Regions from separate parts of the Homo sapiens genome. Here regions 2, 3, 4, 5 and 6 are each linked to region 1. The links are contacts of gene promoters, found by promoter capture Hi-C in blood cells and fetal thymus (Javierre and others, 2016). All regions are on one chromosome and are shown on one strand. The core of a region is centred on a gene start or on the middle of the fragment in contact, and the rest is flanking DNA. Distances in the headings are between cores, read along the strand shown.

Region 1 (4,486 bases), core at 1,062-3,561:
CAGCCACACGAGGGCAGTATTACTTAATTTCCACTCAATTCTTATGTTTCAGGTAAGAAAACTGAGACCTGGAGAAGTTGAGTCATTTGCTTGAATTACTCACTAAATAACCAGAAATTAGCCAGACCAGAATTGAAATGCAGGTCTTTCCGATTAGTCCCCACGCTGATCCAAGAGCCTCCAGGCTTCGCAGAGACCCTGCACTGGTTCCCTGCAGAAGGGGTAACTCAGGGGAAATGGGCTTAGTCACCAGAAGTCAGTCACTCTCCTCCTGGAAAGGTCTGGATGCAGATGCTGCAGACCTGGCCCATGTTATCAGACGTGATCGGAGATTGGAGTTGGAGCTTCATTGTGAAACATCTGCAGTCCTCAAGCTGAGACAACATTTCTGGCTGGGGGCGGTGGCTCATGCCTGTAATCCCAGCACTTTAGGAGGCCAAGGCGGGCAGATCACCTGAGGTCAGGAGTTCACGACTAGCCTGGCCAGCATGGTGAAACCCCATCTCTATTAAAAGTACAAAAATTAGCTGGGCATGGTGGTGGGCATCTGTAATCCCAGCTACCCGGGAGGCTGAGGCAGGAGAACTGCTTGAACCCGGGAGGCGGAGGTTGCAGTGAGCAGAGATCACACCACTGTACTCCAGCCTGGGCAACAGAGCGAGACTCCATCTCAAAAAAAAAAAAAAAAAGATTTCTGACTGAATTTAAAAATAAACAAAAACTACACCAACACCGAGCCATTCACAGCCTCTCAGGATTTGGAAAACAAAACAAAACAAAACAAAATAACACTGAGGCAAAGAGCAAGTCCCCCACACTGTAAAGGTATCAGCTCCACCATCTGGTCTCATCAGGGCCTCACCAGATGAAGCCTACCCCTAGCAAGCTGGTCTGGAGCTGCAGTTGGGCCCAAGGGCTGGGTGAGCGCCTGGGGCTGTCCACAGTGAGCAGATTCAGCAGAATTGCAGAACGTGGCCACCCGGCTGACTGAGGAAGGCCCTGTCCCGTGGGCATAAAGCCAGGATTCCTTTGGCCTTTTGCTGCTGGAGGAAAACTAGGCTGATTCAGAAGGTCTCACCACTGCTCCCTAGCACTGACTAAAGTCCGGGATGTCAGACTATGAGGTCATATATCACAAGTCTCTGTACGCCTTTGATCCCCAGTTTCCACATCAATAAAATGGCGGTAATCATATCTGACGATTGGGCGGGATTCTATGAAATAATGCGCACAAAGCTCTGGCAAAACCCTATGTAATGGAAGATGTTACTGATGACCAGCACTCAAGTCCTTCCTCCAGCCTCCGCATGGAAAGTTCCCAAGTGTCCCTAGAAGTCTGGAACACTCTAATGTTGACTGGAAAGAATAAGATGGATCTCTTTTTCTGATATGGAAGCGTCCCAAATCCAGTCATACCAGCTGGGAGGCAGTGCCCGCTAGCGGTAAAAAGCATGGATTTTGGATTTGGACAGATCCCCCTGAATTGAAGGCACAAGGGAAACCACTTGTGCCTCTGGCCAAGTTAATTTTTCTCTCCAAGCGTCAGTTTCTCCACCTGTTAAAAAGTAACGGCAAACCTACCTCACTGGAGCTTAATAAGGATTAAGTGAAATAATGCAGGTCAAATATCCGAGCCTTGATATATATAAGCCTCATGTGTATGTGTTCCCATTTATGTAAAATAACAGTGTAAGCATATTCAAAGAAAGCAATTCAGAATGTACTCTTAAACTAAGCAATGGTTATCTTGGTGTGGGGAGTTGGGGAAACCAGGGGCCTGCCTTTTTCTCTATTATATAATGCTGCAAAGTTTGATCTTTAAAAAAGGACATTAAAAAGCCCAATTGTACTTTAAACAACACAAGTTTTAATACTTGGGTAAATAAATGGCATCTAAACAAAGAAAGAAACTGAAGGCAGAGCCAGGCCCAACCCTAGGAGACTGAGGAAGCGATTCTGCTTTGCCTGCCCCCAGCTCAACCCCTGCACTAAAACCCCCCGGCCCCAGCCCCAAGGTCCAGGGGGTTGTATTCCTGGGGGCGACCCGGCGCCCCTCAAGTCTCCCTCCTCTTGCACACACACACACACAAACCAGACTCGAATCCCCGCCTCCCAAGGGAAAGTGTTTTTTAAGGTCTGTTCCAGGGCCTGCCGGGGCCAGGGACCGAGGTGGGACTGAGTGGCCGGAACTCCTCCACCTGGGAGAGTCGGTCCGGGTAGCTGCGGCCAAGCTGAGTCAGCCCGGCGGGCGGCGCACGCGGCGCCGCGTGACCCGCAGCCACGTGACCCGCGCGGGGCCGGGCCGCCGGCGCAGTCGCTGCAGCCGCCGCGGGAGGCGTCCGTGTAAGTGGGTAGCAGGGCTGGCGGGGACCTTCCTCGCGGGCCGGAGCGCGGAGCGCTGCCCCAGCCCTACGGCACTCGGGGTCGGGACCCCGGGGAGCCGCCCTCACACATTTTCCAGGAGGGATCGGAGGGGCGATGGGGTGGTAATGGGGGTGGGGGACACGCTGTACCCCACCGACGACCGCGCGGGCCACCTTCGCCTCTTTCCTTCACACTCCCACTAACCGCAGTGCTGGGGGAACAAAATGTCCTCCTTCTGGAGCGATTACCTTTTCCCTTTTGTGCTTTGGGGGAAACTGAAGACCCAGAGGGGTTCGCAAAGCAAGGTGGGCCAGTAGGAAGACCCCTCCGCTAGTCCAGAGAGAGCACACAGCTCCCCAGGCAGAGCTCATTGCCCCACCTGCTCTAGTGGCCCAGCATGATCCCATGACCTCTCTACTTCTGGAGGAAGAGTCTTGGGGTAGACGGCGGGGAGGGGGTAGGGTATCCCGTTCCGGTAGGGGCAGGGATGAGGGAGGCGGGGCTGAGCCGAGCATCTATCTGGATGGTAACAGCCAACGTAGAAAATACTAAGTTGTTTACATGCATTCTCTCATTTCATATTACCCGTCGTGAAGTCTGTGAAGTAGGTACTATTGTCCCAATTTTTACATAGGAGGAAACGGCTCAGAGAGAACTTAGGTCCTTTGACCGAGGTCCTGCAGGTGGTAAGTGAAGGAGCTGAGATTAGAACCCAGATCTGCCCCCAGTGGCGCCTCCTCGTGGTCTGTGGGTGGTGGAGACGACTGGCCTAGCCTCTTAGCTCCTCTGTGAATAGAAAGGCCTTTTTCCTGGCTCAGACAGCTTGGGAAGGGGATTGTTGCTGGGTAAGAGAAGCTTCTCCCACCACCTCCATCTCTTTCTCTGCCCCTTACCATTGATTCCTTTCTGTCATCCCCTCTCCCCCACTGCAGGACAAGATGAAGCTCATCATCCTGGAGCACTATTCTCAGGCGAGCGAGTGGGCGGCTAAATACATCAGGAACCGCATCATCCAGTTTAACCCAGGGCCAGAGAAGTACTTCACCCTGGGGCTCCCCACTGGTGCGTTCTTGGATGGAGAGGGTGCCGTGGATAAGGGTGGAGAGAGTAGGCAACAGGGGCCAGGTACACCGGCTCACTCAGCCAAGGGACTTCACGGGGGCTCTGGGGTACTGGTGCTGAGAGAGCACCTTCCTGCCCCTTCCACATACAAAGGACCCAGCTTCCCTTATGGGTTGGTTTAGTCGCTGCCTGTCCCTGCAGAATCCTGGAGCAGAAGGGATCTTGGTTGGCAGGAAGAATTTGATTTTTAGGCTACATCCTAAGTCAGCCCTGTCCACCAGGGTTTCTTAACAGAATTAAGTCCTGATACCCTAAGGCATTCATTTTATGTAATGAATTAATTTCTCTTCTCTGCATCTAGAGGGGTACCAGCTAAGTACCATCCTTGGGAGAATTGAAAAGATAGTCACTTAGGTAATTTTCTGTAAGGCTTAATTAAACACAGGACCTAAATAAAAAACAGTTCTAATTTCTTTTGGAAAAAATCAAAATGTTGCTTTTTCAGAAAGATATTTTGACCCCAGCTCCTCAAGACAAATGTCCTGATTATTTCTTTCAGAGATGGATGGGTTTGCCCTAGTGGCCCTACCTGACCCATCCATTAGCGTGTCTATGTGTGTGTGTGTGTGTTGGAGGGGTCTTCAAACTTGTTCTTTTTCCTTTTTTTTTTTTTTTTTGGTCTTCCTTGCAGTCCAGACTTTTTCTGTAAATGGCCAGTAGTAAATATGTTAGACTTCACTAGCCATATAGTCTCTGTTGCAACAACTTAACCCTTCTGTTGTTTGAAAGCAGCTATAATTAGCCTGGCATGGTGGCGCTCACCTGTAGTCCCAGCTTCTTGGGAGGCTGAGGTAGGTGGATTGCTTGAGCCAGTAGATTGAGGCTGCAGTGAGCCATGATTGTGTCACTGTACTCCAGTCTGGGTGACAGTGAGACCCTGTCTCAAAAAAAGAAAAGACAATATATAAGTGAATGAGTATGGTTGTATGCCAATAAAACTGTATGGACACTGAAGTTTGAACTTATATAATTTTCACATGTCACAAAATATTATTCTTCT
Region 2 (4,486 bases), core at 721-3,220, 700 kb before region 1:
TCCCAGATGGCATAGCTGATGGGACAGGAAAAAATACATATTTTAGAGTATTTACAGCATCATTTTCCCCTGCCCCCACTTCCTTCCTGTGAAGGAGGAATTAGTCTTCACTAGCCAAGTTCTGGAGTATTTCTTTTTCTTTTTTCTTTTTTTTTCTTTTAATTGAGATAGTGTCTTGTTGTGTTGCCTAGGCTGGAGTGCAGTGGCACCAACATCACTAACTACAGCCTTGAACTCTTGGGCTCAAGCGATCCTCCTGCCTCAGCCTTCCAAAGTTCTGGGATTACAGGCGTGAGCCATTGCACCTGGCCCTGGAGTATTTCTTGTGCATAATAAGGGAAAATTTGGGAAAGGATTCTGAATTGTGCAGTACCATGGGTAGGATGGGTTGATGGGTCTACCTAAGAGAAGGCAGGGAGTTACATACTAACGAAAGCAGAATGGATCAGAAGGCGAGAGAAAGAATAAGAGAAACAAGCCAGGGATGAGCTGGGTTTGGGAGAATTCAAGAGATAAATTAAGGAGGACTGAAGTAGCTGCTGGGCTGTTGATATGGTTTGGCTGTGTCCCCACCCAAATCTCATCTTGAATTGTAGTTCCTATAATCCCCACGTGTTGTGGGAGGGACCCAGTGGTAGGCAATTGAATCATGGGGGCGGTTACTCTTTTCTATGAGGGAGATGCACAAAGGGAAAAGAAAAGACACACATGCAATACCTTCAAGGGTAAACAACCTTTATCCCATGTAAATGGCAATGCAGATATAATAAGCAAATGATACAAGCAAATTGCAATGGGAAGGGGAAAAGGGAGAAGATATATATATATAGCCTGGACTACTGGGAGGCTAGAAGTTAATGGCAAGGGCATGCCAACTTTCACCCCACTTCTCCCATCAATATAGACTATATATATATACACACACACTCACCAGACGATGGAGGATTCATCACCAGACCAGAAGCAACAGCCTGGGCTCCAGAGTCGGCCACTACACTTACCAGACTATAGAGGATTCATCACCAGACAGGGAAGCAACAGCCTGGGCTCCAGAGTTGACCGCTCATCCATGCACAGATGAGGAGAGGTCTCATGAAGCTTTGGCGTGGTATGGGACCCTAGTTCTTTTTGTAACGACTTATTTGGCATGAGGCCCAGTCACGAGGGCCCTTCATGACTGGACTCAAGGAACACAAAAAGGTCAACTTGTTTTTATGATTGTTTGTTGTTTTTCAATAACTAACATACAGGAACAGATTTCTCCAAAACCGTCTGGATGAACGCCTCAAGGGGCTCATGCAACCTGTTCTGGGACTTGGTGACCATTGTTTGTGTCCACATTCAATTGAGTTCAAATTTAAGATTTAACTTTTCCTCCACATATCCCCATGCTCTTCTTGAGTTCTCATGAGACCTGATGGGTTTATGAAAGGCTTTTCCCCTTTGCTTGGCACTTCTCCTTCCTGCCGCTATGTGAAGAAGGATGTGGTTGCTTCCCCTTCCGCCTGAGGCCTTCCCACCCCTGTGGAACTGTGAGTCAATTAAAACCTCTTTCTTTTATAAATTACCCAGTCTCAGGCAGTCCTTCATAGCAGTGTGAGAACGGACTAACACAGATGTCATGAGGAGGACTTGAGAAAGAGACAAGAGAAGAGGATTCTTCAGAAATGTTGGTGTTATGAATGGAACCCAAACCCCACCCTTTGGCATCTTTAAGAGATTTCAGTAAAGACATAAATTGATTTAAAAACTGTGTTTTGGTCAAGCATAGCGGCTCACTTCTATAATCCTAGTACTTTCAGAGGCCAAGGTGGAAAGATTGCTTGAGGCCAGGAGTTTAAGACCAGCCTGGGCAACATAGCAAGACTCTGTCTCTCAAAAACAAATTAAAATTAGCCTTATGTGGTGGCATACACCTGTAGTCCCAGCTACTCAGGAGGCTGAGGTGAGAGGATCACTTGAGCACAGCAGTTCGTGGCCTCAGTGAACTATGATTGTGCCACTGCACTCCATCCTGAGTAATGCAGCAAGACACCCAACTCATAAATAAATAAATAAGATAAAAACTCTGTTTTGTATGATGGTCTGGTGTTTATTCAAGGCAGCCTGGACTACTGGGAGGCTAGAAGTTAATGGCAAGGGAATGCCAAGTTTCACCCCACTTCTCTCATCAATATAGACTATAGTCCAGATATTTTAAATTAGTATCCTATAGGGTAGCTGGGTGTGGACCCCAGATGCATTTTATTTGGCTAGTTGAGATTTAAGTTTTTTTTGAACCAACAATTGAAAATTGGGATTTCACATTTTAAAAGCCTGCATTTCCTTTCCTACTTCTTTTGAAAAAAATGGAAAAATTTGGCAATATGAGGCCCTTATTACCACAAGGCAAAAATAGGCTCATGCTTTCTAGTTAACCTCAGTGCCCACCCCTCACATAAGGCATATGTATGCATGTATACCTGGCCCACTGCCTGCATTTGCAGGTGGACCTTGGAGATATTGTGGGTTTGGTTCCAGACTGCCGCAGTAAGGCAAGTATTGCAACAAAGTGAATCATACAAATTTTTGGTTCCCAGTGCCTATAAAAGTTATGTTGACAGTATGCTGTAGTCTAGTAAGTGTGCAAGAGCATTATGTCTAAAAATGTACATACCTCAATTAAAAATACTTTGCTGCTAAAAAAATAGTAATGATCGTCTGAGCCTTCAGTGAGTTATAATCTTTTTCCTGGTGGAAGGTCTTGCCTCGATATTGATGGTTACTGACTGATCAGACTGGTGGTTGCTGAAGTTTGAGGTAGCTGTGGCAAGTTATTAAAATATGACAGTAATGAAGCTTGCCATGTCAATGGACTCTTCCTTTCACAAAATATTTCTCTGTACCATATTTGGTAGCATTTAATAACAGTAGAACTTCTTTCAAAAGTGGAGTCAGTCCTCTCAAATGCTGCTGCTTCTGTATTAACTAAGTTTACGGAATATTCTAAATCCTTTATTGTCATTTCAACAATGTTCACAGCATCTCTACTAGGAGTAGAGTCCATCTCAAGAAATCACTTTCTTTGCTCATCCATAAGAAGCAGCTCCTCTTTCGTTCAAGTTTTATCATGAAATTTGTATTAGGGTTCTCTAGAGAGGCAGAACTTATAGGATAGATGTATAAATGAACGGGAGTTTATTAAGGAGTACTGACTCACATGATCACAAGGCGAAGTGCCACAATAGGCCATCTGCAACCTGAGGAGCAAGGAAACCAGTCCAAGTCCCAAAACCTCAAAACTAGGGAAGCTCACACAGACACACCCAGGAACAATACTTTGCATCCTTCAATCCAATCAAGTGAACACTCAGTATTAACCGTTACAAGATTGAAGCAATTCAGGCACATTTTCAGGCTCCACTTCTAATTCTAGTTTTCTGTTTCCAGCACCTCCGCAGTGACTTCCTCTAGTGAAGTCTTGAACTCCTCTAAGTCATCCGTGAGGGTTAGAATCAACTTCTTCCAAACTCCTGCTAATGTTGATATTCTGACCTCCTCCCATGAATCGTGAATGTACTTAAGGGCATCTAAAATGGTAAATTCTTTGCAGAGGGTTTTCAATTGATTTTGCCCAGATCCATCAGAGAAATCACTATCTATGACAACTATAGCCTTAAAAAATGCATTTCTTAAGTAATAGGACTTGAAAGTTGAAATGACTTCTTGATCCATGGACTGCAGAATGGATGTTGTGTTAAAAGCATGAAAATATTACTCTCCTTGTACATCTCTGTCAGAGCTTTTGAGTTACTAGATGCATTTGCCAACAAGAAGTAATATTTTGAAAGGAATCCCTTTTTTTCCCTGGAGGAGTAAGTCTCAACGGTAGGCTTAAAATATTCAGTAAACATGCCATAAACAGATGTGCTGTCATTCAGGCTTTGTTATTTCATTTATAGAGCACAGGCAGAATAGATTTAGCACAATTCTTTGTTTTGAGACAGGGTTTCACTCCTGTCACCCAGGCTGGAGTGCAATGGCGTGATCTTGACTCACGGCAACCTCAGCCTCCAGGCTCAAGAAATTCTCCTGCCTCACCCTCCTGAGTAGCTGGGACTGCAGGCACACTTCACCACACCTGGCTAGTTTTTGTATTTTTTTGTAGAGATGGGGTTTCACCCTGTTGCCCAGGCCAGTCTCGAACTCCTGAGCTCAAGTGATCTGCCTGCCTCGACCTCCCAAAGTGCTAGAATTACAGGCATGAGCCACTGTGTCTGGCCTGGGTTTAGCATAATTTGTAAGGGTCCAAAGATTTTCTGTATGGAAAATGAGCAATTGGCTTCAGCTTAAAGCCACCAGTTGCATTAGCCCCTAATAAGACAGTCAGCCTGTCCCTTGAAGCGTTGAAGCCAGGCATTGCTTTCTCCTCTTTAGCTATGAAAGTCTTAGATGGCATCTTATTCTGATAGATGTTTTGTCTACATTGAAATTCTATTGTTTAGTG
Region 3 (4,486 bases), core at 985-3,484, 680 kb before region 1:
TTCCTGCTGCCTGAGTTTAAAGAGCAAAGGGCACAGGTGATGGGTCAGAGAGCAGGAAGAAGTACATGTATTTTAGACCCCTCTTCTGCCACCTGGGTGCCCAGTACCTCTACTGGGAAGTTCTTATTAGATTCTACCCAGGGGTGAGGGGTCACTCCCCTGCCCCAGAGCCTACAGGAATGTCAGGGATTTCACAAAAAGAGGTGTCTCTGGGACTCTGCAGAGAGTAGGGTGCTTTTTAATTAAACGGGGGTAGGGTGGTCTTTGCGGGAAATGTTGGCTAGAGGGTAGGCTTTAGAATTTAAGCTTGCCCCTTGGGCTGCCGGTCAGTACATTATGGCCCTGCCCTTTCTCCTACCCGCCACCAGGGTGACCAAGCTGGGGTCCTCCCTCAGGGTGTTTGGCAGGATTTGGAAGGCAACCAAATTCTGATCTCAAAGAACACCAAAATCTTGAGATGGTGATTTCTTGTACCATCTGTGCCCCCACATCAAGCCACTGGACTCGGCTGATGCAGTCATCTTTGTGCTGGCAAAACTTTTGGTTCAAGTGTATCTTGTTTCTTTGATGCACACTGGCCTATTCATATGGCTTCATATCTTGGAAAGAGCAGATCCTATTGATTTACGTCATTTTCTTTATCTTTACAATATCCTGTGGCAGTGTGAAAGAGCTGGTGTTCTCACCTTCCTTCCATTGATAGCACAACTGAGGCATAGTGAGAGTGAGTCGTGACCTTTGCACAGAAGGTCCCAGGCCAGGAATGTAAGAGATCTGAGGTCTTTAGAACCCAAATCTGCTTGGTTCTCCATGAGGTTATGATGGTGGGCAGGGTGGGGGGGAATACATATATACAGAGAGGCAGATAGACATAGATAGATAGATAGATAGATAGATAGATAGATAGATAGATAGATAGATTATAGATAGATAGAGATATAGATAAATTCTTCGGGTAAATCTTTAAGAGAAAAAAAAAACACTGCTAGACCCAAGAGAAATGAACACATGTTCACACAAAAACTTGCCCATGAATAACAACAGTATAATAATAGCCAAACAGAAGAAACACCCCAAATGTTCATCAGCTGATGAACAGAGAAATAAAATGTGGTGTATCCATGCAATGAAATATTATTCAGCAATAAAAAGGAAAGAAATGTTGATATGTTCTCCAATACAGAAGAACCTTGAGGACATCACACTAAAGGAAAAATGCTCATGTTGTTTGATTCCATTTATATGAAACGGCCAGAACAGGAAAATCTATAGAGACAGAAAGTAGATGAGTGGTTGCTTAGGCCTGGCAGGAGGGAGGAATGGGGAATGAACTGCTAATGGATATGGGGTTTCTTTGGGGGGTGACAAAAATATTCTAAAATTATAGTTGTGATGGCCGCACAACTTTGTAAATATACCAAAACCACTTAATTGTACATTTTAAATGGGTGAACTTCAGAGTATGTGAAGTATATCTCAATAAAGTCATTTAAAAACCCAAACCAGCCTGGCCAATATGGTGAAACCCTGTCTCTACTAAAAATACAAAAATTAGCCGGGTGTGGTGGCGCACGCCTGTAATCCCAGCTACTCGGGAGGCTGAGGCAGGAGAATAGCTTGAATCCTGGGAGGTGGAGGTTGCAGTGAGCCAAGATCACTCCACTGCACTCCAGCCTGGGCGACAGAGTGAGACTCTGTCTCAAAAAATAAAAAAATAAAAATAAATAATTTAAAAAACCCAAACCACTGCTATTGAAATAATTAACCCCGCGACAGGGCTTTGCCAAAGGATGTGATCTCACCCTGTAAGCTCTGAGAAGCTTGTCTTGTCCCATAGAGCCTGGCCATAGGTCACTCACACAATTCCACTGAGAAGAAGATAGATGGAAAAGATAGGATCAATTAATTTCTCCTTAGAGTCTAAACCAGGAGAGTTTTTTTCCTCTTTCCTGGACAGACATTTTAGATTTTTTAGAATCAGTCTCACTACTTTATTTTCACTTCTGGGTTTTAAATCATGCTTCCAAAAGTGTTTCCCATTCTAAGATTATAAATCTTATTAACTAATGTTTTCCTCTAAGGCTTGTCTCTTTACACTTAAACCTCGGATTCATCAGGAATTTAAATAAGAAACTGGGGATCCAGATTGGGTTTGTTTGTTTGTTTGTTTGTTTGTTTGTTTGTTTTTGCCAAATAGCTAGACAATTATTAAACCAGAAGTTCTTAATTTGGGGTTAAAGTGTGCCTGGGGCATCTTGTAACTTCCTGAAATTAAATGTAAAACTGTGTGTGTGTGTGTGTCTGTGCGTGTGTGTGTGTGTGTGCGTGTGTGCGTGTGTGTGTGTGTGTCCTGGGGAATAGAGCTATAGATCTTGTCAAGATTTTCAAGAGGTTTTGTGACTCAGGAAAACCAGTAGGCTTTCTATATTTCATAACCTGCTTGGGGTTATGTTGCATACACTCCAATATACCAAGACCCAATCTAAACCAACAGGATAGTTGTTAAATCATTACAGGGGAGGCCTGAGAGATCACTCTGTTCTCTGTCACATGTCAAGTGAGAGTTGCACCATCTTTTGGTTTGATGTTCTGCTGAGGCAAAGAATGAGAAGTCTCTCAATGGTTCCTCTTGGGTCTATAAAGCTTTAGTTTGTTGTTGCTGCTATTCTTTTTGAGACAGGGTCTTTCTCTGTCATCCAGGCTGGAGTGCAGTGGCGTGATCTCAGCTCACTGCAACCTGCGCCTTCTGGGCTCAAGCAATCCTCTCACCTCAGCCTCCCAAGTAGCTGTGACCACAGGCACATGCCACCACACCCAGCTAATTTTTGTGGGGTTTTTTTTGGTAGAGAAGGGGTTTCATCATGTTGCCCAGGCTGGTCTTGAACTCCTGGACTCAAGCAATCTGCCTGCTTCAGCCTCTCAAAGTGCTGGGATTACAGGCATGAGCTACTGCACCTGGCCTAAACTTTAGGTTTTTAATCATCAATTGACAAATCAATGGAGATAGTGCACAATTTTAGCTGACAAAACTTGGGGCCTTCCTGTCACAAAGACTTTGAGGAGGCAAGGTTCACAGCCTATAGTCCCATAAATATAAATAAATGATAAACTGAAAACAAAACTGCCATTACAAAGAAGGTGGCAGATCCTATGTGCAGGCTCATGCATTCATGTAATAAATGTATATGCAACACCCACTATATGCCAGGCATCGTCAAGACTGGTAGCTCTCAAAATGCAGTCCCTGGACCAGGAGCAGTAGCAGCAGTTAGAAACTTATTAGAAATATAAACTCTATTTCAGTAGGCCCACCCCAGATCTACTGAATTAGAAACTCTGAGGTTGGAGCCCAGCAATCTGTGTTTTAACAAATCCTCCAGGTGATTCCAGTGCACACTCGAGCTTGAGAACCACTGGTCTCGGTACTGAGTATATAACAGTGAGAAGACAAAGTCCTGCTCTCCTTGTGGAATTTGTATTCCAGTGTATGTGGTAGGGGAGACAGAACAAGTAAGTAAATATTTTATTTATTTTATTTTATTTTATTTTATTTTATTTTATTTTATTTTATTTTATTTTATTTTATTTGAGACAGAGTCTCACTCTATCACCCAGGCTGGAGTGCAGTGACACTATCTCGGCTCACTGCAACCTCCACCTCCCGGGTTCAAGTGATTCTCCTGCCTCAGCCTCCTGAGTAGCTGGGGTTACAGACGCCAGCCAACATGCCTGGCTAATTTTTGTAATTTTTAGTAGAGACGGGGTTTCACCATGTTGGCCAGGCTAGTCTCGAACTCCTAACCTCAGGTGATCCACCCGCGTCGGCCTCCCAAAGTGCTGGGATTATAGGCATGAGCCACCACGCCCAGCCTAAGTAAACATTTTATGAATACAATAATTTTGAGAAAGTAGTAAGTAGTATGAGGAAAAAGAAAGTGGGAGATGTAAAAAGACAGTGATAAGGGGCTGATTTAGAACGGGTGGTCAGGCTGCAGGTGGCCTGAGCTGAGACAAGAATAACAGGAAAGAGCCAGCCAGGCAAATAACCTAGAGGCAGAAAATAAATGCATAATTCTGGGCAGAGGGAATGGGAAGTACAAAGGCCCTGAGCTAGGACCAAGCCTGGCCCGTTATGAGGAGCAGGTGACTGGAGCACGGTGAGCAATGAGTATGTTGGGGGAGAACTTGCAGAGGCAGGTGGTGGTAGTGAGCTTGGCTTTTGTTCCTAGTGCAAGGGAAAGGCCCTGGACAGGTCTGAACAAATACGTACATGGTCTGATTTACCTTTTAGCAGGTTCCTTCTGAAATGAACTGTAGAGGGTTAGGGTAGAGCAGGGAGGCCAATTAGGAAGATACCCCAATACTCCAGGCAAGAAATTTGGTGCTTGGATGAACTAGACCAATGTGCAAACATCTATTATTAAGTGAAAAACAAACAATTACGCAGGACATTGTGCACAGTAATGTGTGTTTTTAGCATACACAT
Region 4 (4,486 bases), core at 1,273-3,772, 600 kb before region 1:
TCCGCACAGCTGCTACAGGCACTGATGGATGGTTAGTGCAGGGAAGGCAGGGTAGCTGCTGGTCTTCCATGATGCTCACGAAGCTGCTGGGGTGGGCTTCTCCTGGAGAAGGTGGAGATGCATGGAGTCCTGTTTCACAGATGGCATGGGGGCAAAAGGAGAGGCTGTTGGTGGAGACTAGCCAACCTTTGGGTCACAAATAAATATATGAATGACAAGTTAATGGTGGCAGATGTACATGTCAGGCAATGGGTAAAAACCCCACTCCTCATAAAAAGACTAGTGTGGATAAAGTCACTAAACCTTTTCATGGTGATCAAGGGCAAATTGGGGCTTTCTGTTCCCAGACTCCTTTTGCGATTCAGCTCCATCGCTTACTAGCTGTTGCCCTTGGGCAGGTCACTGAACATCTGTAAGCTTTGGTTTTATTAAAAATGATGATAATATTAGTGTCCACTTCAAGGGATTATGGTGAGATTACTTGAGATAACCTGTAGCCCAAAATACGTTAATGATGAGGGTGATGATTTTTATTCTAAGACCACTTGATAATCAATATGTATTGATGATCACATTCACTACTCACACTTACAAAGTACAGCTCCCAGGCCGGGCGCGGTGGCTTACGCCTGTAATCCCAGCACTTTGGGAGGCCGAGGCAGGCGGATCACGAGGTCATGAGTTCAAGACCAGCCTGGCCAACATGGTGAAACCCCATCTCTACTAAAAATATAAAAATTAGCCTGGTGTGGTGGCGCATTCCTGTAATCTCAGCTACTTGGGAGGCTAAGGCAGGAGAATTGCTTGAACTGGGACCCGGGAGGCCAAGGTTGCAGTGAGCTGAGATCGTGCTACTGCACTCCATCCTGGGCTACAGAGACTCCGTCTCAGGAGAAAAAAAAAAAAGTGCAGTTCACACGTTAGTTTCCTGGTCTCTTTTTGGCCTCTTTCTTTTCAGTTTTTAGAGTCACCAGCACTTCCTTCTCCTAAATGGTGGGGCAAGTATATGTTTTAACCAATTCTAATGCTCATTGGTTTTGTTTTTTAATCCTTTGAGGTGTAAGTGATGCATTTTCACATTAATAATATAAGTTTGTATGTAGTGGCTACATATAATGTTAAAGGTATATTATATATAATATGGTGGTTTCTGTGTTCTATCTCACATTAGAAAATAGCTAGGATGAAAACAGCCTGCGTGCAAGGGACAGACCCACCTTCTCTGTGCCACATGAAGCTATGTGGAAAGCTGCAGAATGGGCAGGAACCAGGCATAGCCTTCATAATGATCTGTCTCATAACATTTCCTTTGATATGGTATTTGCCCTTTAAAAACCCCACTTACTCCCACTCTGTGCCTTTTTCCCTGGTTCCAGTTCTGTTTCCCCCAGCAAATCCAGAAGCTTCCCTTAACATACTAACCCTTTACTTTCCCTGTTGTGTCCCTGAAAGGCCTCCTGTGCCTTTGGCTGCAGGTCCCGAACGTCCAGGCCATCTGTGCTATCTGCTTCGCGGTACCTCACCAACGCAACGTGAGGGTGGAGGGCAGAACCTTGGTCCTGGCCTCTCAGCTTTTGTGGGTTTCAGCCAGACCCTAGGTGTTATTTTAGTGCAACTTTGGTGTTTAATTTGAGGATGTGTGTGGACCAGAAGGAGGGACCAAAACATGATTCTTTTCCCCATGGTCAGATGATTAAATTTGAAGTTCTAAAAAATGCAGTTTGGTCCAAAGCTGTGTCCAATTGGGAAGAGAGAAAAATGCCCTGGAAACCCCTCCCAGGCCTGGGACCATCCTTCCTTAACCACCAGCCACCTCACAGGCCCGCGGACTGCGGGCATCACCTGGGCAGGCTGTGCTTACTCACTACCCGGGAACCCTGTGCCCTGGAGCTGTCCTTCCTCTCTTCAAAGTGCATTTTGTGCCTTTGCTGGAAGAACCGACTACAGGTTTGTTCAATTTCTTACAGTCTTGAAAGCGCCACAAGCAGCAGCTGCTGAGCCATGGCTGAAGGGGAAATCACCACCTTCACAGCCCTGACCGAGAAGTTTAATCTGCCTCCAGGGAATTACAAGAAGCCCAAACTCCTCTACTGTAGCAACGGGGGCCACTTCCTGAGGATCCTTCCGGATGGCACAGTGGATGGGACAAGGGACAGGAGCGACCAGCACAGTAAGCCCATCTCTATGGCACCCCCCTTCCCTTTCTGACATCTTCTGTAGTCAAGGTGGGAGGAAGGTGCACATTTAAGTACAGGTACTTGCTTCTCCAAGGTTCTATTCAGGCATGACACATTCAGAGGTGGAGTCACATAAATGCGTAAAATGTCTGGGTTTAGAAAATAGGGACTTGTGGGGGCCACCACTTACCCAAACGTGTCCTATTTCAAGTTTTTTAAAGCACTCTCTGCTGACCCAACAGAACGGGCTGCCGGTGCTCAATTGCTGTATGTTTTCCCAGGTTTCTGTAACTAGTGAAAGATCTGGCCCCGAAGGCTAGTCAGGGGCCTGCACGCTTCATGATGGGATGAACCAGACAGGCATGGTGGTAAATCCTGCACAGAGATGTGGGCTCCGTTTCAAGTCAACTGACTCTCCTGGTTATGTTTCCACTGGGCTTGATTTGTGAAATCCCAGTTCATAATCGTAGTCTTACACATCATAAATTATGCAGCTTTCCCTCTGCGTATCACGCAGATGTGGCTGTGGTAACCAGCAGTGGTAAAGTCATTCTCCAGACCTTATAGAAACTGGAGAGTAGGAGCGACTAGCGCCAAATGCTGAATATCTCTTCCAGGACTTCCTGGCAGCCCGGTTCTCAGAGGTGTTGACAAATGAAGGTATGACTCTAGAGAAAAGAATCTTCTTGACTATCTAAGTATAAAAAAATCTCTTCCTTCTGCTTTGGTACTTCTGGCATTGGTGTGTATGTTTGATATTAGGTGTCCAGGTCCTATCGTGATGTTATCTGAGATTCCCTGAGTCCCACTGCAGCATCAGAGGTTACAAAGAAGCCTAAAGTCAGATCCAGTCCCTGCTTAGAGGGTCAGCAATCTCAAGAGTCAAACTTGCCACAAATCAAGAGAAGGAAAATCAGGAGACATAGAAGAAGACAGGCAGGAAGGAAGTTTCTGTAGGACTGGCTTCAAAATGCAATGCAAAACACTCACTTTGACATGATGGTTTATACATCAGGTGGTCTTAATTATTCATGGACCATGCACCAGAGGTTGCAGGCTCTAAGAACAAATGACCACTTCGCTGGTGCTCACGCTGTACCCTCAGATGCACAGGTAATGGGGATGGATGCTGGCGTTTACACGAGGTGACGTTGTTCCTTCCTCCCCACCCACTGCACAGACCCTGGAGATGAGGAGCAGGAAGGCTGAGGCTGGGGCTTGCAGCTGCAGAATTAGCTCTTTTGGGCTTTGTTTTGATGGCTTATCTTCAAATGGGCTTGCTGAATGTCTTATACTCAGTGAAAAACAGGTGTCAGAATGAGGCAAAAAAAAAAGACTCTAGTTTGTTAAATAGCATACATAAGCAATATTCACTGCAAATTAGCAAACTTAGATTGTAGTCCATTGTGTCAGGCATGATACACAACTCACGTGATCTGCCCCACACAACACGAACAAGCTTTAATTCCTCTGGGTTTTAAGTGTTCCTAATACGTCTTAACCAATTTTCTGAAAAAGTAGGGAATGCTCTCCGGTCCTCAGAACCCAAGAGGAAAGACAAACTTCATGATATGTTCCTTGGGGTTAAGCTAGCTCTTCTGGAAACCTTGACTTCTGGAGTAAAAAAAGGCTCCAATACTGGAATTTCTGTAGCAATGGAAAATGGCTTAACTGTTGCCATTCCATCATTAGCACAACAGACTGCACTCTGGGTGTGTAACACTGGCACAACTTCTGGAGTCCACAGTGGATTTGGCCGCCTGACTTAAGATGTCAGGAGCCCCTAGAAAGCAGCACAACGTAGCCCTGGGAGTGCAGGTGAGGATTTCTGCATTCAAGGAATGCCAGATTATTTTCCAAGTGAACTTGGGCAACTGCACCTTTCACCCTCACTTTTCTCATTTGTACAAAAAGAATACTAATATTCCTTGCCTCACAGGTTTCTTGGGAGGGTTAAATGAGATAATATAGTGAGAGTTCTTGGCACAGTGGCTGGCACAGAGGAACAGCACAGCACGTGTTGGTTCATATTGCAGTTATCATCATCAAGCTTTCCATATAATCAGCCTAGCATATGGTAACACAGGGTCGTATTGAAGGACCTTCCAGACTCCTCTTTTTAACAGTACTGCCACCCAGGAAAGTCAAGGGGCTAGATGCAGGCTTAGATTCAGCATCTCTCTGCCAACACTCGGAGTTGTTGTGTGGGCCTATTATTTGCTTACTCTGGAACTAAGAACAAGGACCAAGAGGACAGAGATCAGAGTAAGTGGGGTGGGTGGCCAGAAGCCCATCCGTGTACCTGTCAG
Region 5 (4,486 bases), core at 1,026-3,525, 580 kb before region 1:
ACTGGAGAGACAGCTTAAACCAATGACTGCGGGTTTTGAAGTTATTTCTAGATTTTAATGTTCCCTCCTCTGTATCCTAACAGTTGATAAACTAAGGCTTGGCTGTAATTCCTAGCCCAATCCACACCCCTTTCCTCCCTTTTATGAAGATGTCTTCAAAAAGACAGTCAGTAGGGGGAATTTTAGTCTGGAGCTTCAACTTACATCGAATTGCCAAGTGACAGAGGGCACAGAAACCCTCTCTTGAAGTTGTCATCTCAGCCAAGGGTCCCAATGTGAACACAGCTTCGTTTCCTCTCACTGCCCACTAGGGATCAGGAGATTAAATCATCAGCGTAATAGGTAACCTCTAAAATGCTATGTGCTCAGTACAGATCACCTGGGACGGCTTTAAGGGGTTTGGCAGTAGGGGATTTTTTTAAGGTAGTTCTTCCAAGTGGTAGTAAAATCAATCCATCAGTCAATCGCTTAGTCTCAGACTCATGATTGAATCTCACGCCTCTGCCACTCTGGCAAGTCACTTACCCACTCTGAGCTTTGTCTAAAATGAGGACAGTCATGGATCATAACCGCCTCACACAGAGCGTACATGGGTTCAGTGGTGCAACACACAGAATGCGCCCATCAGAGTGGCTGGCACGTCACAGACCAGTGGTGGCTGTAAGACAAGTCATCAGCTTAGAAGCCCCTCACCCTCACTGTGTCTTAGGTTATGCCACAGTTTTATGGCTTTTCCCTCTTTAAATAAATTTTGACGTTTATTGTAACCTGCTTTCACTTATATAAAAATATTGAGGGAGAACTCCCAGAATCTAATTTCCGATAGGCTCCAGGCACCCCCTTCTCCCACCATAGCCGTGGCCATCACTACAATTCACCTGAAATATGATCTTAGTATATTACGCCTAAGAATGTTTGCATTTTCCCCATTGATAAAGAGAAGTTCTAAGATATCTCAAAGCTCTGCTTCATGCTCTTCATAAAATTTAGGCACTAATCCATCCTGATTCAAACTTGTGTGTGTGGAAAGGATATGTATATTTTTTTTAAGTTTGAAAGGCTATATATCAAAATACTGATATAGTTATCTCTGGGGGTGGAGAATGGGTGATTTTATAATATGTGAATAACTTCCTGTATTTTCCAATTTTTTTTTTACAGTAAGTATATGTCACCTATGTAATTTAGGGTGGGAGGGGAAACATGCCAAATATAAAAAAGAAGACAATTTAAACAATAGACATGAATCAATAGTTAAGCCACATGTCTTCAGCATTGTACCAAGTGCATAATGAGTGCTAACAAATCCTGGTGGAGGGACGGAGCACCGCTGATCTGGCCTGCTGACTCAGCCTGTGACTCAGCTATTTTGTGTGTGTCAACTCCTCCAGTATAATAGAGACATCAGGTGGGGAATGTGGCCATCCTCACCTTCGTCACAGAACACAGGCCTGATGCCCACTATGAGGTGTCAGGCATGAGTCCTCCCTACAAGGGAGTGGGCAACCCACATAGGTCCAAGCTGTCTACCTCCTTCTACCCCCAACAACATGCATCAAACACGAATGTCTGCACCAAGTTCCTCTAGAGGCAGCAGAGTCATCCAATAAAATATTATATTTATATCTCATCTTGTTCCAATATGATCTAAAGTGTCTCACCCTGTTGTCATTTCACTAGATTATGAATGAATAAGAAGCAGGATACTTCCTGTTACACAGTTCCTTACTAAGAAAGGCTGACTTTACTGACTGCTTTATATTATCTCAAGAATCAAATTAAATGCATTACTTAGCTGGTGAGCACCTATTATTTGCAAGGCTCTGTGTCTGGGGGATGGAGAGAAGACCAACAAGATTCCATCTCCTTCCTCACTAGGGTTTATAATCTAAAGAAACAAACATGCTCACACATAGAGAACAATGAACAATATAATTGGAAACCGCCAGACAGGGAATCACCAACCACTGTGGGTGAAGAGAGACTGCAGGGGTCACACGACTTGAAAAAGGCAAAGCAAAGTCAGATGTCTCAGTTCCAGCATAAGTGTTTTAATATACCTGTTTTAGACCCAAATGTAATAAATATATTCTAAGATCTTGACGAATAGAAAGTTCAAAAACTGAGTTCCCCTTCCACCAACAGATTGACTACAAGTAAGCAAAATAGTGGTTGCTGGATTTTTTTCAAGTAACTGCACTCTTTAATACGTTGTGGCTGATTTTCAACTTAATAAATGTACAGCTGCACTGGGTTCTACTGTACGGATATTCTTTTACCCACTTAACCAATCACCTTTCCATGGACATATAGGTTACTCCTAATCGCTTGCCCCTATAACCATTGGTTCAGAGACCATCCTCAAAAATACAGTTGTACACTTACTCAACCATCTCCTAGGGGTAGATTCCTAGAAGTGAAATTGCTGAGTCAAAGGTAATACATCTTGTAAATTTTGATACATATTGCTAAATTGTCTTCAGAAAGTTTCCACTAATTTTTCTCGCCAACTGTGCATGGCAGTGCCTAGTTCCCACATTCTAAGTCTTGCAAATGGTTTTTTATCTTTGCACAAATTTTTTTTTATCTTTGCACATAGGATAGCTAACATATGATAAATAATTTTTAATTTGCATTTTTCTCGTTAGCAGTATTGAATGTTTTCATAGGTTTGTTGTTCATTTTTAAAACATCAAATAAAACATGACATTTTGATGATATCATAAGTCTATATCCATATAGCCTTATCTAGTCTGTATGTACATAAAGAGATGTAAGGCAGGATGTTTATCAGTGATTAACAGTTGCCTATATCTGGGTGGTGGGTTTTGGGATAGTTTTTTCTTTTTACAAAGTAAAGGTATATTTTTAAAAGTACAATTCTTCTTATAAGTAGCATTTTTATTACTCTTTAGAGACAGGTTCTTGCTCTGTCACCCAGACTAGAGTGCAGTGGTACAATCATAGCTCACTACAGCCTCAAACTCCTGGGGTCGAGCAATCCTCCTACCTCAGCCTCCTAAGTAGCTAGGAGGACAGGCACACACCATGGCACCTAGCTAATTAAAAAAAAAAAATTGTAGAGAATGGGTCTTGCTATGTTGCCCAGACTGGCCTCAAATTCCTGGGCTCAAGCAATCCTCCTGCCTCAGCCTCCCAAAGTGTTGTAATTACAGGCACACACCATGGCACCTAGCTAATTAAAAAAAAAAAAATTGTAGAGAATGGGTCTTGCTATGTTGCCCAGACTGGCCTCAAATTCCTGGGCTCAAGCAATCCTCCTGCCTCAGCCTCCCAAAGTGTTGTGATTACAGGCACACACCATGGCACCTAGCTAATTAAAAAAAAAATTGTAGAGAATGGGTCTTGCTATGTTGCCCAGACTGGCCTCAAACTCCTGGGCTCAAGCAATCCTCCTGCCTCAGCCTCCCAAAGTGTTGTGATTACAGGCATGAGCCACTGTGCCTGACCACAAGTAGCATCTATTTATAAGATTCTTTTTATAAGTAGCAAAAAATAAAGCTATTTTCATTTTAAAAAATCTACATTCTAGGATATGTTTCATGCTTAGGATAAATTTTGCACAAGCATATCTTCATAACAATACTCAGGTAAAATCCTGACGTTAGTGAAAATCACCAGGATAAAAGGCATTTTAGCAGCTTTTTGTTTATTCTTTAAGTCTAGCCTTCAAGTTAAAACAACAGCAACAACAACAACCCACTACATCACAGTCTGGTTTTTACCTATTTGGAATGTTTTTCCATGGTCAGGCCTGTGTGCCAGGCCACTACAGAGATGAAAGATCCAGCCCTGCCCTCAAGGTACTTACAGTCGAGCAGAATGTCCCCAGTGGGAGATTCTAGAGTCCTGAGGACTCTTAGAAGTGCTCTTATCAGTAGCATCTTAATTACTTTACAATGGATTTTAAATGGAAAGGAAGTTTACAATAATAGCAAATGCATATTGACAGCTCTTTAGTGCCCGGTGCTGTTCTAAGTCCTTATGACTACCCTGTGAAATAAGTTCCACCATGACCCCAATTTTCCTGAAAAGGAGACTGAGGCATGGAGAGCTTTAGTATTTTGCCCAATGTCACACAGCTAGTAAATGGGGACCCCCATGTGAAACTACTCACTGATTGTCCTACTCTCTTTTGGTTTTATCTTTTTAGCAGACACCAAATGAGGAATGTTTGTTCCTGGAAAGGCTGGAGGAGAACCATTACAACACCTATATATCCAAGAAGCATGCAGAGAAGAATTGGTTTGTTGGCCTCAAGAAGAATGGGAGCTGCAAACGCGGTCCTCGGACTCACTATGGCCAGAAAGCAATCTTGTTTCTCCCCCTGCCAGTCTCTTCTGATTAAAGAGATCTGTTCTGGGTGTTGACCACTCCAGAGAAGTTTCGAGGGGTCCTCACCTGGTTGACCCAAAAATGTTCCCTTGACCATTGGCTGCGCTAACCCCCAGCCCACAGAGCCTGA
Region 6 (4,486 bases), core at 1,483-3,982, 530 kb before region 1:
CTCCAGAATCTTGAACATAATGGATAGGATATGCTAGCTAGCTTTTGGAGACAGGAACCATGTCATTCCTACAATGGTTCCATAATAAACGTCAATGGAATACAGTAGAACTGGCCTGTGATGTAATTTAGAGACTACTTCCTGTGAATGAGGCAATATGTACAGGAATAGAATGTTATTTATGCTATGGGAAAGGCCCATGGGGCTTCAGACTTAGGTTTAAGGAAAAAGGAATCCACCAGCTGATTATACTAGATCCCAGGGGACTAAGGATAGTAAACAGTCATAAAGGAATTGGGGCTTCAGAAATTCCCAAGGTTAGGAAGGACTAAATCCTGTTTTGGAGCAGACAGTGGCAGACTCCCTGGACGTTCTTGCCTGACATCAATCAGTCTAGGGACTGGTGGTCCATTAGGCCTCTGCAAAGAAGGGACCTGAAGCTTCCCTGCCCCAGCCTTACCTGTCATTTACTGCCAGGCTTTCCCAGACACAGGATGGTTATTCACTAGGAATACAAATGAGGGTCCTTTTATGTTTCCTAGCCTGCAGGCCCATTAGTTAGCAGTAAAAAGCCAAAATGTTTAAATCCTAAAGTGAAACCTCCATGCTGTGGTATTCTGTCTTGTTAAAAACAAGTAACTTTATGGTTCTTTGATCAATAAATAGCATAAGGGTATAGAGATAAAGGAAAAGAACATTAGCATGAAGACAACAGACTAAATAAGGCCCCTGAATTACTCAGAGGGGTGGAATTTCAACCCTGGTAGATTTCCCTGGTAACTATGTAGGAGAATTGTTCCAGACTTGAGGACTGTGATCATGCAGGTTTGGCATCCGTGTCAGCTGACACTGGCCCCATGTTTGGCCCCATCCTCTTGGGCCCTTGGCTTGTCAGGGCTCAGTGGTCACCATGCCAGTGAAGGTCTCAAGCTAGGACTTCACCCTCCTACGTGAGACTGCCTACTTGGCCTCTCCCTACAGGCTCAACAAAGCTTCTAAAACCTATACCCAAAGTCAACCCTTGAGTTCTCCTCAAGCCTGCTTTTCCATCTCGCTAAATGGCCAGGAAATCATTCTGCAAAGTGCTCAGCTTGACAGCCTCAAAACTATCCCTGGCTCCCACTCTCATGTCCCACTTTCAAATCATCAGCAAATCTCACTGGCCCTGCCTTCAAAGCATATTCAAAATCTGACCATCTCTCATCACTTCCACTAGTCTGGGTTGCCATCCCTCTCACCTGGATTACTACAAAGCCTCCTACTTGGTCTCGTTCCTCCCCTCTTGCCAAGCCACCCATCCCATTCTTTTTGCCACACAGCAGCCAGAGGAAGCCTTTTAGAACCTAAGCCACGTCATGGTGCCCATTGGTTCTAGACCCTCGAGGGGCCTCCCCATGTCATACAGAGTAGAAGCCACAGTCTGCCCAGGCCCCCAAGCCCTCTGTGACTTGCCGCAGCTCTCCCATGGCACCTCCTACACCCGCTCCTGTGGCTAACTCTGCTCCAGCCTCCCTGCTACTCCACAAAGGAGGTAAGCATGTGTCCGGCTTTAAGCTGTGCACATGATGCTACCCAGGCAGCATTTCCGCCAGCTATCAGCAAGCTTAGCTTCCTAAGCTCTCATTTCTGATAAGGATGGCCCCTTATCAGAAAGCTTCCCTGACCACCCCTTTAAAATCCAGCTTTACTTTTCTTCATAGCACTTATCCCCACTTGACAAAATATATATTTATGTTTTACTGTCTGTCTCTCTCCACTGGAATGTAAGTTCCATGGATACAGGATTTTTCCTTCTGAGAACAGTGCTGGGTACAGAGAAGACACATATTTTTTACATGAATAATGTGGGCACATTGTCCAATTAACGTGTACCATAAGACAAGACAAACAGTAACAACTGTAACAAAAATCCCAGTCACCTGTATGAATATGTATAATGTCTTTTTTCATTACTAACCTTTTAAAAAAATAAGGAAAGAGGAGGAGGAAATTTTTGTCGGTTGGATGAAGAGGGGAGAAAATCATTTACTTAGAACCATGTTTCGGGCACTCTTCTAGGTCTGGAGGTAGAGAGTCAAGATAGATAAGCTCCCTGTTTTGTGCAGCTTATGTTAGAGAGGAAATAAAGAGGTGGAGGTGGACACTGAAGAAGCTGGGAATCACACCATCAGTAAACAAACAAATGAACAAACAAGATAATTTCAAATAGTCGTGAATAATATACATGTTCAAGAAAACTTACTGGAAATTACCAGTAAAAATATACCTGTTTTATGCATGGGACTTATCAGTCTCTTTTTCCCATTCCACCCCCAAAATCCTGCACTTTCAATAAAATATATAAATATTCATACTTGATATTTATTAAAACAAGCTGCTTATCTTAGAGTAACTACTTTGTAACTTCTATTAAATGATGAGCTGTGCTTTGTTGAAGACAATATCTCTTGTACATGGATGGATTTAGCAACTGATATTGTCCTTTGTCATATGCCCAGAAGGTACCCATTAGAAGTTAGCAGATTTTTCACAGGTCTTCAAAAGTGAATGTCTGGAATTCTTTCCAACCTAACCTTGAATCTTTGTGGATATTTCAGTACACTGCTGAAAAGTTACATGCTTTTATTTTAGTAGAGTTGGTGAAAATTCCATATGGATTCCTCCATTCACAAAACTGAATGAAAACACAGAACTCCTTAAAATAAAAATAGACACACTGGGAATCACCAGGGAAATGTTACTTATTCTCTGAGCATTCAGCTTCTGCTATCCCTAGTGGTGGGAACCCAAGCTGTCATTCCAATTTCCTATAAACTTGGCAGGACTCTGTGTCCATTTGGAATTGTAATAGCCCGGATTTCAGTTCAGGGAGGAAGGAAGGAGTCATTGCATTCCTCTGAAAAGTCCTCCAGCAGAATCTCAAGAAGCCAAAGCCTAAATGTCAGTGTTCTCCCAAAGGAAAGACATGGTTCCATCTGACGAGTTTACCTGGTATAACGCTCTATAGCCAATTCTGGCAAGCCCTCTTGGCTGGTCTTTTTTTGGTAATGTTGCTTGTTGCAGAAAATTCTGGTTCCTGCATTAGGTGTTTTCTTTTTTCAGTTATGAACAGATTTTTCATACTAAATGCCCTAGACATTTCAGACTGGAAGTTCCAGGCTGTGTATATTCTTGCTGTTCATTCTCCACTCCTGCATGCTTCCTGATTTAGAATGTGGGAGCTGCAAGAAAGGCCAACCAACTCGCCCTCCCAGCTCTCATCACCTGTGGTCACAGTCAGACAAAGGAGTTGAATCCTGTTAAAGTGGGGGTCGGGCTGGGGGGTGGTGGGGGGGCGCGGAGTGTAGACCTCAGGCAGAGACAGAGTGGGAGGCAGGAGATGCCTCTAAATGGCCCAGGTGAGAGGTATGTTGTGGGGAGTGGAAAACTCTAAGGCTTGCGGAATCCTGATCAAGCCCTGAGTCTATGGCTCCTACTTCCTTCTCCCCCATTTTTGGTTCCAAATAAGTGATTTGCTTGCAAACGGATTCCACAAGCAAGTCATTTCCTCTTCCTTGGGGGACAGCAACTGTGACGAGAGGGAGGAAGGAAGAAACACACACCTCTTCTGAACACCCGGGATCGTGGTAAGGTCTTTGTGAGCCTTGGTGAGCCGCAGCCTCTTCATTCCACAGCATGCAGCATAACTATGGAAGGATTCAAAAATTTTGCTTTTAAAATTATTGGGCTCCAAGGAGGTGATGTTGAAACAATTCCTCAGAAATGAGAAAATCTAACATACAGATTGTTTCCAAATGAAATAAAGCTTTTAACGAATACTAAACTTAAGAACTGATGGAGTTGATACAATCGGTTAGCTATTATAGGCATTTAATCCACTAAATTTGGGGGGTGGGGTTCTTTCATTTGTTGGAAAATATATTTATATTTTGCTGTCTAAGTCTGGGCCCAGTGGCTCACGCCTATAATCCCAGCACTTTGGGAGGCCGAGGCAGTTGAATCACTTGAGGTCAGGAGTTCAAGACCAGCCTGGCCAACATGGCGAAATCCCATCTCTACTAAAATACAAAAAAATTAGCTGGGCGTGATGGCAGGTGCCTGTAATCCCAGCTACTCAGGAGGCTGAGGCAGGAGAATCGCTTGAACCTGGGAGGCAGAGGTTGTAGTGAACTGACATCGTGCCACTGCACTCTAGCCTGGACGACAGAGCGAGACTCTGTCTCAAAAAAATAAATCAATAAAAAATAAATAAATATATTTTGCTGTCTATATAGATGCATATCATATATAGGATTTTATATATACTATCTATGTAACATTTTTTCAGGGCTAAATATTGCTATAGGCCCTCAAAAACCTGTTGGCCCTGAGCCCTGTGCCTGCAGAACCTAACAGATACAGTAGATTGTGAAGTAAATGTAACAGAAAAAATAATGTAAAAAGTTATTGCAACCCCAGGCTAGTGAATGGATTAACATGACTAGGA

What was found. The method cuts DNA at HindIII sites, captures the fragments that hold promoters and counts their contacts. A CHiCAGO score of 5 or more calls a contact.
Region 2: a contact is called between a fragment that was not itself captured here and the fragment with the promoter of GNPDA1 in region 1, in 6 of 17 cell types (naive CD8 T cells, naive CD4 T cells, total CD8 T cells and 3 more). The highest score is 7.3, in naive CD8 T cells.
Region 3: a fragment that was not itself captured here is called in contact with the fragment with the promoter of GNPDA1 in region 1 in 4 of 17 cell types (naive CD4 T cells, naive B cells, total CD8 T cells and 1 more); the score reaches 6.3 in naive CD4 T cells.
Region 4: a fragment that was not itself captured here is called in contact with the fragment with the promoter of GNPDA1 in region 1 in 1 of 17 cell types (endothelial precursors); the score reaches 5.1 in endothelial precursors.
Region 5: a contact is called between a fragment that was not itself captured here and the fragment with the promoter of GNPDA1 in region 1, in 1 of 17 cell types (endothelial precursors). The highest score is 5.8, in endothelial precursors.
Region 6: a fragment that was not itself captured here is called in contact with the fragment with the promoter of GNPDA1 in region 1 in 4 of 17 cell types (endothelial precursors, M2 macrophages, activated CD4 T cells and 1 more); the score reaches 9.7 in endothelial precursors.

What each region holds. Positions count from the first base shown.
Region 1 is chr5:142,010,852-142,015,337 of GRCh38, reverse strand. GNPDA1 (glucosamine-6-phosphate deaminase 1) reads left to right here and starts at 2,311. Exons shown (of 7, transcript NM_005471.5): 1 at 2,311-2,343; 2 at 3,297-3,426. The coding sequence starts at 3,303. RefSeq lists a cis regulatory region at 772-1,044 and silencers at 2,186-2,455, 3,127-3,186. The HindIII fragment of the contact is 4,254 bases long and covers 1-3,221 here.
Region 2 is chr5:142,708,330-142,712,815 of GRCh38, reverse strand. No RefSeq gene overlaps it. Among named protein-coding and RNA genes, the nearest start is that of FGF1, 24 kb to the right of the region's middle. The HindIII fragment of the contact is 1,740 bases long and covers 1,101-2,840 here.
Region 3 is chr5:142,690,524-142,695,009 of GRCh38, reverse strand. It overlaps a transcript of FGF1 not described here. Among named protein-coding and RNA genes, the nearest start is that of FGF1, 6.7 kb to the right of the region's middle. The HindIII fragment of the contact is 823 bases long and covers 1,823-2,645 here.
Region 4 is chr5:142,611,643-142,616,128 of GRCh38, reverse strand. It overlaps FGF1 (fibroblast growth factor 1), which reads left to right. Exons shown (of 4, transcript NM_000800.5): 2 at 1,968-2,170. The coding sequence starts at 2,002. Among named protein-coding and RNA genes, the nearest start is that of FGF1, 72 kb to the left of the region's middle. The HindIII fragment of the contact is 2,233 bases long and covers 1,406-3,638 here.
Region 5 is chr5:142,595,173-142,599,658 of GRCh38, reverse strand. FGF1 (fibroblast growth factor 1) reads left to right here. Exons shown (of 4, transcript NM_000800.5): 4 at 4,175-4,486. The coding sequence ends at 4,369. Among named protein-coding and RNA genes, the nearest start is that of FGF1, 89 kb to the left of the region's middle. The HindIII fragment of the contact is 5,090 bases long and covers 1-4,486 here.
Region 6 is chr5:142,541,466-142,545,951 of GRCh38, reverse strand. No RefSeq gene overlaps it. Among named protein-coding and RNA genes, the nearest start is that of FGF1, 140 kb to the left of the region's middle. The HindIII fragment of the contact is 2,151 bases long and covers 1,657-3,807 here.